Linked DNA regions of Homo sapiens: region 2 is linked to region 1. Evidence: promoter capture Hi-C in 16 types of primary human blood cells and fetal thymus (Javierre and others, 2016). All regions are on one chromosome and are shown on one strand. Each heading gives the region's core, a stretch centred on a gene start or on the middle of the fragment in contact. The rest is flanking DNA. Distances are from core to core; before and after follow the strand shown. Region 1 has its middle 2.7 kb from the start of UGT2A1. Region 2 holds the start of CSN1S1 (casein alpha s1).

Region 1 (2,692 bases), core at 143-2,642:
CTCCAGACACGTCCGAACATCAGAAGGAACAAACTCCGGACACACCATCTTTAAGAACTGTAACACTCACCGTGAGGGTCCGCGGCTTCATCCTTGAAGACAGCGAGACCAAGAACCCACCAATTCCGGACACACTAGGAGAAGTACGGCTGCCTCTGCTGAGTCATGTAGGTTGTCAGGTAAGTAGGGGAAAGCCAGCAGTCACAGGCCTCACCTAGTTCACATGCTAGCTGAAGGGCCAGTCTCACTCCCACCGTGTCCCCCTCAACAACCTGGAGTCTGTTTCCAGGTGGAGGGTGAGCCCTGCTTGAAAACTTGCCTGAGGCTTTCCACCTCCCGGCTGCCAAAGAAAAGGGCTTTAGTTTTCCCCCCTGCCTGTGAGGTCTGCATGCTGGATTCACACCCTCCTTGAAGTACTGGCCAGGAGGCTTCATGCCCCGTTCAAATTGTTACAGAGTTTAGCTAGAGAATTCCTTCTGCCTGTGGTATTTTACCCCCTACTTCTCTGGCCAACCTCCCAGTGGATCCCTGTGGTGCCAGGCAGGTATGGGCTGCTTGGGGGACCCAGCGAGCTCCCAGGGTCTTTCCGCTACTTCCCCTACCCCTGTATTTCACTTGGCTCAGCTCTCTAACTTGACTCAGCTCCAGGTAAAGTCAGAAACAGCTTCTCCAGTGGGGTGTGTGTTTGGAAGAGAAGGGTCTCCCTTTCCAATTTCTGCAGTTGGGACACCCACAGTATCTGTGGTGTCTCCTTGGTCCTGCAGAAACAGTCTGCTTCCGGCAGAGGATCTGTGGGTCCTCTCAGGATTACCGGTTTGCTCTTGCAGTCGATCTGGAGCTAAAATTCAATGTGCAAGCCTCTGTCTCCTGCTCTGTCTGGAACTGCAATCTAGTCCTGCCTCCTATCTGCCATGATGCCTCAGTCATCACAAATGATATTTTAATAACATTATGACTAAGCATGCATACCCTGTAGTCAGATAGTATACATTTAAGTACTGGTTGTGACATTAAGTCTCTGAGTGTTACTGGGCAAGTTACATAAGCTTTCTATGCCTTGGCATTTTCATCTGAAAATGGGAACAAAATAGTATTACCTACCTCAAAAGGTTGTTGTAAGAATTAAATTAATCTACATAAAATACTTAGAATAGCACATGGCACATTGTAAGAGTACCATAAATGTGAAATTACAAAAAAACTGAAAATGCAATGAGATAAAAATTTATATTGAAGTAATGTGTGTAAAATTAATCACAAGAAGAGAGAATCATTCACAAGAATGTAAAATTTGAGAAGCCATTTGAGAATGTATTGTATGGTGGGCTGTTTGCCATATGGCCCTCAAAATTCTCCCACTATGACCCTAGGCTTGGCCAGGTAACTTGTTTGATCTAATAGAACTCTACAGAAGTAAAATATGACTTCAAGGCATAATCCTTAAGAAACCTTGCAGGTATTATCCTCACTTTTTTGGGACAGTGCCAGGGTGCAGCTAGATGGAGTTTCTTTACATGAGAGTCTAAGAACATTGTTTCAAGAGAGTGACGGCAAGAGTCGATATCCAAAACTTAAGTGAAGCCACCTTAGACAATCTGTCTGAGTGGAGTGTGTTAGGGTTCTCCAGAGAAAGAGAACCAACAGGATGTGTGTGAGAGTGTGTATATATGTATGTGTGTAGAGAGACAGATATGTACATTTATTTTAAGGAAATGCTTCATACAGTCGTGGAAGCTTGGTAAGTCCAAAATATGCAAGGTAGGCCAGCAGGCTTGAGACTCAGGGAAGAGTTGCAATTTGAGTCCAAAAGCAGTCTGCTGGCAGAATTCCTTCTTACTTAGGTCTGATGTCAATTATTGTCTATTAAGGCCTTCAACTAACTGGATGAGGCCCACCCGCATTGTGAAGAATAATCCAGTAAAATATTATCTCATTCCCAAAACACATAGACAGAAATATTTAGAATGACGTTTGACCAAATATCTGGGGACTATCATCCAGCCAAGTCGATACAAAAATTAACCATCACATAGAACCACCAGGATGACTTTTGCTGCATGAGGTATATACAGGGAAATCAGTAGAACTGTCCAACTGAGCCCAGCACAAACTTCTCACCCAAAAAATTGGTAGCAAATAAAATGATTGTTGGTTGAAGCTACTAAATTTGAAGTGACTTTTTTCACAGCAATACACAACTGATACACATAGGAAAAATAACTCAGAAATTAAAATGAAAAGAAAACATTTGACATGAATTTTTCAAAATGCTTTTTAAACATTGATAAAAATTATTATCATACATGGTATGAAATATGGTTGTTTTACAAAGAAGTTTATTGGTTAACCTTGAAGTTGATGATACTTTATTCAGTATTTCTCATTAATTATAAGTGGTGAAAATTGTTGTCATTGAATTGGGTAAAATGAGTCATTTCCAAGAAAAGCTTCACCAATTTAAAATATTTTCTTGTTATAGAGTTAGTCCCATGAAGCCTGTTAGTCTTCATGGGAGGGTGAGTAGAATAACAGTAATCTTTTACACCTAGAAATATATTGGAATCATAGGGAGTCTTCAGGCCTACTGTGTCCAGTGTTCATTATAAATTTTTCTTATTTCGAGTCTCTCTTTTGTCTAGTTGGGAATCATGCTGTTCAATATTTTCAGTTACTGGCTTTGCTCATTCTGTCC
Region 2 (2,692 bases), core at 82-2,581, 280 kb before region 1:
TAAGATTTTAAAAACTTTACTACTCAATATCAATGTTTACCATTCTAGTTATTTTTCTTAGTTCTTATATTATTTAGAAATACTAATTTCTTACAAACATTTTTCTTCACTAACACTTTAAAACATAACATTTTGTTCTTAATGTAATAATATGGCTTAGAGAAATAAAGAAGTGCTAATATTGAAATACAATTGAAAAAAGAAAACACTTTTCCTCCTAGATGACAAATCAGATTTTCTAAAGTGGGCAATAAAGTTAAATCCACTGAGAACTGGAATTTAATTTTATTGAAAAGTTTTGAAAATGAGCTTCTCTTTTAAATCTATTTGAGAGCATTCTTTTCTTTTAGAGTCTTCATGAAAAATCCTGTCTGCACGTTATGTAAAAGCTATTGATCTCTTTCAATTTTTAAATAAAGAATCTAGCCATAACTTCGTGTTTTGCTACATTGGAATATTCATGACATAAATATATAAAGATGATTGAATTGGATAGAATCAAAATATTGACATGTCTTATATTTGATTTCCAGAGTTTCATTAAATTGCAAGAACCCCGAAATATGGACATCCACATGTACTGGGAAAATGGTTTCCAGAGAAATCATTAGAAAAAAAATCAGGTCACACATACTATTTGTTCACACCTTAATCAACATACAAATGCTGACATTTATATATATTGCTTCAGTCTACAAATTTTAGAATCTAAATGTGTTAATAAAAAAGGCATATTTTTGAACCCAAATAAATTTACTATTTGTGTCTTTCTGAATATCTAAATTTAATAATCATTACAAAGTAGCCATCAATAGCTAATTATCTATAATAGATATTCACATTGTAGAGTTAATTTTGTTGCCCAAATGACATGAAACAAAAATGGCCTTGAACTATTCTGCTAGAAATGGTTTTTGCTATGGTAATTACAAAAATAAGAAATTATTTGCATAACAACTTCTCATAGAATTAGGTAAAAATAATTTAAATTAGCTTACCCCAAGCCTCTACTGAAATTATGTATCAACTTTAAAAATATATTTTAGTTACAAAATTATCAAAAAATGATTTGGTATTTTTATAAAACTGTATTGATTCATCACCTAAAGCTGTAAAATGGTATCAGAATTTGCAAAAGGATTTTTAAGGTGCCAGAAAATCATAAGAAGTTTTAATATTTGCAAACATATGGAAATGGTACAAATATACTTAGTAAACAGTGGAAGAAAGAGATTAGATAATGTAAAATGATAGCAATTTTGCTGTATGTAAACGCAGTACCTTAAGCCCAAGTCTGGAGAGAAGCAAGTTGTGTTGATGACCAAGATGATGGCCGATCTCTTTGCTTTACGCTATTTAAATGTGGTAATTAGAAAATGCTAATTTTGTGGTTTCAGTTCAACCAATAGGTTTATTTAAATTCTAAGAATTCTCCCAAATAGGAAACTAATTTTCTGTCCAATTCCTTTCCCAGGAAATTCTGAGAATTTTCAACAGGGAGTGATTCATGCTATGATAACAGATTACACAAGAAATAAAGTGGCATTATTGCAAATTAAAATACAAAAATTTCCAAATTTATGGCTATTATAAAAACATGATTTTATGTTGAAGGGATAATTTGACAGGAACATATTAATAAAATTCTCTGTATATCTTTTGAAAAATTCAATTCCTATAATGGAAATCCTGGGGACAAAATAGGGTCTTAGAAACGTTCCAATTTCTATCAGTGTACCAGGCCATTAAAAGAATTCATCATTTATTTACCTTTTAAAATGCAGCTTGTCCTCTATTATTTATTGTGACTATCTGCTTTATGGATTAACTTATACTGTATATGCTCTGATCTTTTTTTCAAAGAAGGATATCCAACTGTCCTATGTGTTTTGGTGATATTTAAGCTACAGCAGACAATTTTTTGTTTGCTTTCTTTTAGGCATATTGGTTGTGATAGTATTTATTTAACAAATTATAACATTGACTAATTAGAAGTAATATTTATTCATTAATTTTAATTTTAAAAGATTTTGGAAAATTATGCCATACCTCTGATTTCCTGTTTTTTAAAAGTAAATAAAGGAAAGAAATGAAAATGCCTCTCTCCTATCCCAGACTCTGTTCCTTTATGTTAACTATCATTATACAATGTAGAAAAATACTATATCCTGAGGAAAATATCTGTAATAGAGAGGGTTTTTAAAAATTGTTGTTGACTGCGACTTTGCTTTTTTACAGGAAAAGAATCATACTATATATTTTAGGAAATAAAAAAATAGTAATGATATTTACAGCCTTTTCACAGTCATATGAAAAGGGCATTATTCTGGGTTAACACACATTTCAGACTGGTTAATTTCAGATTGGGGATCAGAAGAGATGTACTTTTCCATATTAAAGTTCTCTTTAGTTAGTGTTTTCCTTACTGACTACATCACATAAATTTCAACAACTTACTAGTGTTTCCTATTCACTGTGATTCATTTAAGAGGCTGAGACAAGCATCAGCTGTATTACAGTACCTTGGTTTTGTCTTTTCCCAGAAGTGTACCCAGGAAAACTGATTTATTTTACTCCTAACTCAAAATCAAGCTATACCTACCAACCAAAAAAAAGGCCAGGACCAGATGGATTCACAGCCGAATTCTACCAGAGGTACAAGGAGGAGCTGGTACCATTCCTTCTGAAACTA

Evidence for each region. The method cuts DNA at HindIII sites, captures the fragments that hold promoters and counts their contacts. A CHiCAGO score of 5 or more calls a contact.
Region 2: the fragment with the promoter of CSN1S1 here is called in contact with a fragment that was not itself captured in region 1 in 1 of 17 cell types (neutrophils); the score reaches 5.1 in neutrophils.

What each region holds. Positions count from the first base shown.
Region 1 is chr4:69,654,605-69,657,296 of GRCh38, reverse strand. No RefSeq gene overlaps it. Among named protein-coding and RNA genes, the nearest start is that of UGT2A1, 2.7 kb to the right of the region's middle. RefSeq lists an enhancer at 1-973. The HindIII fragment of the contact is 688 bases long and covers 1,049-1,736 here.
Region 2 is chr4:69,929,707-69,932,398 of GRCh38, reverse strand. CSN1S1 (casein alpha s1) reads right to left here and starts at 1,331. Exons shown (of 16, transcript NM_001890.2): 1 at 1,282-1,331. The HindIII fragment of the contact is 13,101 bases long and covers 1-2,692 here.